Regions from separate parts of the Homo sapiens genome. Here region 2 is linked to region 1. The links are contacts of gene promoters, found by promoter capture Hi-C in human tissues and cell types (Jung and others, 2019). All regions are on one chromosome and are shown on one strand. Each heading gives the region's core, a stretch centred on a gene start or on the middle of the fragment in contact. The rest is flanking DNA. Distances are from core to core; before and after follow the strand shown. Region 1 holds the start of MFSD8 (major facilitator superfamily domain containing 8). Region 2 holds the start of INTU (inturned planar cell polarity protein).

Evidence for each region. Contacts are between HindIII fragments. The study calls those that stand out against the background at their distance.
Region 2: a contact is called between a fragment that was not itself captured here and the fragment with the promoter of MFSD8 in region 1, in 1 of the 25 tissues and cell types used here (H1 embryonic stem cells).

The regions. Positions count from the first base shown.
Region 1 is chr4:127,963,124-127,966,984 of GRCh38, forward strand. MFSD8 (major facilitator superfamily domain containing 8) reads right to left here and starts at 2,050. Exons shown (of 12, transcript NM_001371596.2): 1 at 1,949-2,050. The coding sequence starts at 2,010. ABHD18 (abhydrolase domain containing 18) reads left to right here and starts at 2,283. Exons shown (of 13, transcript NM_001358451.3): 1 at 2,283-2,483. RefSeq lists silencers at 1,007-1,116, 1,227-1,356, 1,367-1,416, 2,537-2,766 and enhancers at 1,857-2,276, 1,867-2,482, 3,161-3,662, 3,663-3,861. The HindIII fragment of the contact is 8,084 bases long and covers 1-3,861 here.
Region 2 is chr4:127,629,868-127,633,626 of GRCh38, forward strand. It overlaps INTU (inturned planar cell polarity protein), which reads left to right and starts at 3,090. Exons shown (of 16, transcript NM_015693.4): 1 at 3,090-3,313. The coding sequence starts at 3,168. RefSeq lists enhancers at 2,738-3,277, 2,940-3,119. The HindIII fragment of the contact is 3,914 bases long and covers 1-3,759 here.

The DNA of each region.
Region 1 (3,861 bases), core at 800-3,299:
AAAATACTGACGTTATTCCTTTAATGCCTTAAAATTAGTCTTTCTTTGTACATTTGGCATAGGACAAAGGCGAGCTCATTTTGGACAGATTTGTTAAACTATCAAGAGGTTGTCAGGCAATTAGGCAGCAGGTCATTACTAAGACCGATACCTTCAAGTATCTATTAAAACCATCATTTTGAAACTGTGAAATCTGGAAAGTGATCAGCTACAAAGGGCCAAATATGGAATGCAGAAGATACAGAATGTGGTGGCTTTGTGTCCGGGATTGGTGGGTTCTTGGTCTCACTGACTTCAAGAATGAAGCTGCGGACCCTCGCGGTGAGTGTTAACAGCTCTTAAGGTGGCACGTCTGGAGTTTGTTCCTTCTGATGCTCAGATGTGTTCAGAGTTTCTTCCTTCTGGTGGGTTCGTGGTCTCGCTGGCTCAAGAGCGAAGCTGCAGACCTTCGTGGTGAGTGTTACAACTCTTAAGGCGGCGCGTCTGGAGTTGTTCGTTCCTCCCCGTGGTCTCGCTGGCTTCAGGAGTGAAACTGCAGACCTTCGCGGTGAGTGTTACGGCTCATAAAAGCCGTATGGTCCCAAAGAGTGAGCAGTAGCAAGATTTATCGCAAAGAGCGAAAAAACAAAGCTTCCACACTGTGGAAAGGGACCTCAGCGGGTTGCCACTACTGGTGGGCAGCCTGCTTTTATTCTCTTATCTGGCCCCACCCACATCCTGCTGATTGGTAGAGCCGAGTAGTCTGTTTTGACAGGGCGCTGATTGGTGCGTTTACAATCCCTGAGCTAGACACAAAGGTTCTCCACGTCCCCACTAGATTAACTAGATACAGAGTGTTGACAGAAAGGTTCTCCAAGGCCCCACCAGAGTAGCTAGATACAGAGTGTCGACTGGTGCATTCACAAACCCTGAGCTAGACACAGGGTGCTGATTGGTGTGTTTACAAACCTTGAGCTAGATACAGAGTGCCGATTGGTGTAGTTACAATCCCTGAGCTAGACATAAACGTTCTCCACGTCTCCACCAGACTCAGGAGCCCAGCTGGCTTCGCCCAGTGGATCCCGCACCGGGGCTGCAGGTGGAGCTGCCTGCCAGTCCCGCGCCGTGCACCCGCACTCCTCAGCCCTTGGGTGGTCGATGGGACTAGGCACCGTGGAGTAGGGAGCGGCGCTCATCGGGGAGGCTCGGGCCGCACAGGAGCCCACGGAGTGGGTGGGAGGCTCAGGCATGGCGGGCTGCAGGTCCCGAGCCCTGCCCCGCGGGAAGGCAGCTAAGGCCCGGCGAGAAATCGAGCGCAGCGCCAGTGGGCTGGCACTGCTGGGGGACCCAGCACACCCTCCGCAGCCGCTGGCCCGGGTGCTAAGCCCCTCATTGCCCGGGGCCGGCAGGGCCGGCCTGCTGCTCCCAGTGCGGGGCCCGCCAAGCCCACGCCCACTCGGAACTCCAGCTGGCCCGCAAGCGCGGCGCGCAGCCCCGGTTCCCGCTCACGCCTCTCCCACCACACCTCCCTGCAAGCTGAGGGAGCCGGCTCCCACCTTGGCCAGCCCAGAAAGGGGCTCCCACAGTGCAGCGGTGGGCTGAAGGGCTCCTCAAGTGCCGCCAAAGTGGGAGCCCAGGCAGAGGAGGCCTGGAGAGCGAGCAAGGGCTGTGAGGACTGCCAGCACGCTGTCACCTCTCAGCTTGGGTGCTGCAACAGGCAAAGCAGCAGCCTGGGTTTCTCCAGCCCCGTCACTCGAACCCACGGGCTCATCACCGCACGGTGCGGCCAGACGCCCTTTCTCCTACGTTGGGAGCGAATCTCCTCGGCTCACACAACCCAGCCACCGGCTCCCACCGCGCTGGAACCCCTCTGGCAGCGAGGGTTTGTCCCAGTGCGGGTGACGCCCGGAAAGGAACCAGTCCCAACAGCGCAGGAGACTGAGGGGTCCCTCCACCAGGATCCGCTCACCTGCTTCCAGGTGTGTCGCCTAAGAGCGGCTCCTGTTCACTTTCGTTCCGCAGGCCGGCCATAGTTACACTCCCTACAAGGCGTCTTGCGCCCAACTCTCGCGACACCTGCTTTCTCCCATCCCGGGTGGCGTGAAGCTGGCAAAACAAGCCTGTAAGTGCGCGTGCGCACCTGACGGTCAGACGTAGGCGGAACGCCCCGAGGTCATAGGCGGGGTCACGCGGAAGGCCGGGCAGCGCAGGGCGAAAGGAGGCTGTGTCCTCAGCCTCCTCCCTCGGCACGCGCCTCCCATCCTGACGGGGACTGAGAGCCCAGGAGAGCTCGGGGCGTGTCCAAACTGCCGCGCCGCCCTGCTCCGGGTTTGTCTTCCTCCCTCCGTTTCTCCTTCCGCTGTATCTAGCATTTCGGTTCCTGGAAAGGTTACCGGAGCTGCGATTGGGGCTGGGACCAAAGTTGAGTCCTGGAAAGGGAGCCTGGAGAGCGGCGGTGCTGGGAGGCCCGGCCAGCTCGATCGCAGGCTTCCACCTGGCGGCCAGTAAGTAGCCGGTCCGGTTAAGTAGTAGGTGCGCTAAGAGCTCCCCGCGCCTCTTAGCGCGCCGTGTACGCGCCTGGAGGCAGGGACCGGGGACGCGGAGCTGGGCGGGAGACTCGCGGGTCAGGGACGCGGGGTGAGGCTGGGGGTGAGAGACAAGGCTGGAGTCCGTGGCGCGCTTCGGAGGGCTGAGATAATGGGGGCGAGCGCGCGGGCAGTCCCTTCCCCCCGTGAAAGGTAGAGGTGGCTTCCAGCTCTCTTCTCTAGCTCGGCTAAATGCAAAGGCGCCTTACCTGGAGGGCTTGTCAGAGCCAGGACTGAAGGTGGGATCTGCTGCTTGTAACCTGCAGGTCCCCGGATGCGCACCCCAACGGCGCCTGCGCCTACGGGGGCCTCAGCCTTGCAAAATGTCACTCAGCAGAGCCTGCTGCTGAAACGTGGGAGTTGAAAAAGGTACAGCACCTGCCTAGCAATGACCAGCTCCTTTCGTCACAAGGAAGATGACATTTTTAGAAAACATGTCATGGGTTTTCACTAGATCTCCATGTTTATTTCTTGGTGGTTATGTATTAACATCTTATCTCTACTATTAGGCTTGTAGGCTAGCTGGCGTCAGTAGTCATTCTGTGTCTCATAAATTACCGTTTTATTAGCGCCAGATACATTGTCATGTAATTTCATTTGATCACAAGTATCCTATGAGATAGGCGAAGCAGACACATTGCTAGTTTACTGAAAATTAAGATCCAGACAAGTTAACCCAGAGTCACTCTGTGTGGAAGTGGCAAAGTTGGAAACCAAACTTAATTTTTTTAAATTAATATTTATGAGCATTTACCCTATGCTAGGTCCTATACTAGTTACACAGTCATGTATGGTATATGCCATCACTTCTGATCTTTGTGTCATTTGTGACCTTGTGTGTATCAGCCAGGCGCAGTTCACTGGTGAACACCTAAACTTGAAACGTGCGGTCTGGGTGCGATGGTTCATGCCTGTAATCCCAGCACCTTGGGAGGCCAAGGCGGGCGGATCACGAGGTCAGGAGATCGAGACCATCCTGGCTAACACGGTGAAACCCCGTCTCTACTAAAAATACAAAAAAAAAAAAAAAAAAAAAAAAAAAAAAAAAAAAGCCGGGCGTGGTGGCGGGCGCCTATAGTCCCAGCTACTCGGGAGGCTGAGGCAGGAGAATCCCTTGAACCCGGGAGGCGGAGGCTGCAGTGAGCCGAGATCACGCCACTGCACTCCAGCCTGGGCAACAGAGTGAGATTCTGTCTCAAAAAAAAAAAAAAAACCAAAAACCTTGAAACGTGCTATTCAGAAATATCTTCTAAATCAAGACCTGATATTTTGTACTTGGATTCAGTCTTGCAGATTC
Region 2 (3,759 bases), core at 684-3,183, 330 kb before region 1:
AAAAGAAGGGCTACTCCATAGGCAAAGCAGCGGCATGGGCTGCTTGACTGAGTATACTTATAGTTATTTCTTGATTATATGCTAAACAAGGGGTGGATTATTCATGAGTTTTCTGGGAAAGGGGGAGTAGTACCCAGAACTGAGGGGTCTTCCCTTTTTTAGAATATATTAGATAACTTCCTGACATTGCCATGGCGTTTGTAAACTGTCATGATGCTGATGGGAGTGTCTTTTAGCAACTAATGCTCATTATCCTCACTGCTCACTGTACTCTAATTATGATTCGCGTATAGTGAGCAGTGAGGATGACCAGAGGTCACTTTTGTAGCCATCTTGGTTTTGGTAAGTTTTGGCTGGCTTCTTTACCGCAGCCTGTTTTATCAGCAAGGTCTTTGTGACCTGTATCTTGTGCCGACCTCCTATCTTGTCCTGTGACTAAGAATGCCTAACCTCCTGAGTAGCAGCCCAGTAGGTCTCAGCCTTATTTTACCCAGCCCCTATTCAAGATGGAGTCGCTCTGGTTCAAATGCCTCTGACACTCCTTTTGCCCATTACCCCTTTACAAACTCCTCCTCCTGTTCTTCAACTTTAGTAACATATAGACCTCTTTTAAGGAAAAACTATTGTGGATTTCCATGGATGACTTAAGTTTTTTAATTATAATTTTAAATAAATGAGGTATAATCTGTGCTTTATAGCTCCTATATAAGATGAAAACAATTTTATGAATTAATACAAATAAATTACAAAATGTAATCGCTGTTATAACACTATAAAAACACATTTAGAAATTAAAACAAAACCATAAAACCTAGGAAATTCAAATGTATATAGTTTAATGTACATTTGTACATGTAATATACAAATTCAAATGTACATAGTTTAATGTATATTTGTACATGTAATGTACAGTTAATGTAAATACAACTAAACTTCAGCTTAAAAGTATAAGCTGCATACTGCAGCTTGTTTGGCTGTGAGGAAGGTAAAATATACTATCCTGGCCATTTAAGTTTAATACACTTGAAAAACAGCAAGTGCCTTTGTGCTGCTTCTTAAAAGCAACAGATGAAGCTCCCATGTGAAAGACACCCTCCCTATACTAGAAAAATGTAACATTCTTATTCTCAAGGGCATAGAAGTGAAACCAAGAGAATTCTGTACAGACCTTGTTAAAATAACTTATCTTTTAAGCTTCCCAATTTAGTTTAGTTGCTTCTTCACAACTAACTATTCTTTGTCCAATCCAGTATATAAGTTAACTGACTCTAACTGCTTCTTTGGGTCTTCATTTCTTTATGAGGGCTCCCCTGCCATGTAAAACTTGGATTCTAGAGCAAGGAGAGAGGTCTGTCTGCCAGGCTCAAATTTGCGAGGTGGGAGTGGGTTCCAGCCTATTCAGGGAATGGCCAGTTGGCCTGTATAGATGAAGCACAGAACTGAGAGAAAATTTAGGGCAGTTCCCCAAGTTTGCTGAATCACAGGGGGCACTTGTTTGAAATAGAGATTTCCAGGCCCCTCCACTGGAGATTCTGATCCTGTTGATGTGGAGCAGGGCCTCAACATCTGTATAACAAGTTCCAGTTGCTTTTCTTTTGTTAATCTATTTTAGGTAAGTTTAATTCTCAGGCCCAGCTGGGACCCTAAGAAGATGGAGGTAGAGTTTTTCTGCCCCTGCAACAGCTACAATTCAGGTTCCTTTGAGTTCTCCATGCATATACCCATACCGGCCATGTGATGACTCATCTCCCATTACTCTTTCTCTGTTGGAACCATGCCATAATAACAATATAAATTAATACTTCCTCTAAGAAATTTGTCATGGCCCCACGTATACTACTTTGGTTTTTTCTGGATATTCCATTAGAACCTTGTATTTATTGTAATACTTATCACTATGTTATAATTGCCCATTAGAGAATCCCCAGCACCCAGCCTTTTAGATCATAAAATAACATTATATCCTTTTTTTACACGCTGCAACATGAACATTTCCCCCATGCTTTACTCTTTGAACACATTCTAGTTAAAATCATAATCATCATATTTTATATATATTTAACTTTTCCCCCATTATTTGACATTTTAAGATTGCTTTCAGCTTTTCACTTTTACAAATTTTATAAATTTGCATCCTTTCTCAGAGTAGATATCTAATAGTTGAATTACTGGGTTCTGAGGGAGGAAATTTCATGTAATGGTTATTGACTTAGGTTCATTTCTTGGTTGACTTTGTTGACTGCTAGCCATGTAACCATTAGTAAGATGCATAACTTCTCTAAAGCTTAGTTTCCTTATTTAATATAGAGAAAATATTTACTTCATAGTATGTGAATGCTCAGCATTGTATATGAATAAAGTGAGCAGAGCCAAGGCTGACTCTCAATCAATGCTAGCTGTTATTTTTGTACTTAAAAAATACTTGATATAGGTATTCATAAATAACAGGTAGATTTTACCTGTTTACACTTCCAACTTTAATAATGAGAACACTTAATTAGATTATAAAATTTTGAGTTAGAAAATGAACATGAAGTTGATTCCACAGGATTGCCACTCATTTGTGGCACTCTACAATACCCACTTGGGATAACCGTGAAAATGTTTGCAATTGCGAAACAATATGAAACCCATAAAACAATGGAGCGTATTTACATTAACACCTAGATCGCGTTGCTTAAAAGCGTCCATTACTTGCACGGATGAGGTCCTAAGGAAAGGTAAAGTGCGGTTTCCTTCACCTCGAAGGAAATCCAGGCTGACCGACAGCTGTTAGGCATTAGAAACACAGGACAAAGAGCAAACTGGATATCCAGCACTGGAAGAAAAAGGTGAGAAGCCCAGTGCATCTCCGCCTGTTTTAACAGGTTATGCTGCTCTAAGGAATTGCGTTCCGGAGAGCGTAAGCGGTGAAGTTTTAGCTATTTCTATCCTTCCAACTGAGAAGCCCTCCTGGAAGTTTCAGCCCATTGGCTGCTTTCTGTTCTCCCTGTTTCTTCTGGGAAGCTTCTCCGTCTCCCTGGCAACGCGACCTGCCACCAATTGCAGCTAAGGATTGGTGGTCACATGGCCTCTGCCCCTTCCCAAGCAGAGGCAACATGGCGGCCTTAGCAAGCTATAGCTGCGAGATTTGAATTACTCCACTCGTAGCTATTGCATTCCTGACGATGGCCTCTGTGGCTTCGTGCGATTCGCGTCCGAGCTCAGACGAGCTCCCTGGAGACCCCTCTTCACAAGAAGAAGATGAGGACTATGATTTTGAAGATCGGGTCAGCGACTCGGGTTCATATTCCTCAGCGAGTAGCGATTATGAGTAAGGTTTTCAAAGAGGGACAATTAATCCCATCCCATCAATCCAGAGAATATACACGTGGGCTGGGGGAACTGCAAGGGTGTTGGCGTGGTTGGAATCGAGTATTTGGGGTTCTATAATAAGTGGGATTTAATTGCACCACGTTCCATTGTATGGTGGTGTGAGCAGAAATGACGATGCCATTCTTTGCTACTGTAGGTTGTTTTTTGTTTGTTTTGTTTTGTTTTTTCAATGATTCTTAGATGAGGAGAATCTCCTCTTTTTGGTCATGGGCTCTGTCTAGGCCATAGGAGGATATATCTGTAACAGCGTTCAAAAAACTCTGTTTCGATCGCAGTGTCTTGATTCTTTGGTGTGACCTTTGTGGCTTAATCTCTTTAGTATTTGGAGTGGAGAGACACCCTACGCGTTTTATAAGGCAGTTGTTAAATTTATGTAGATTTTTT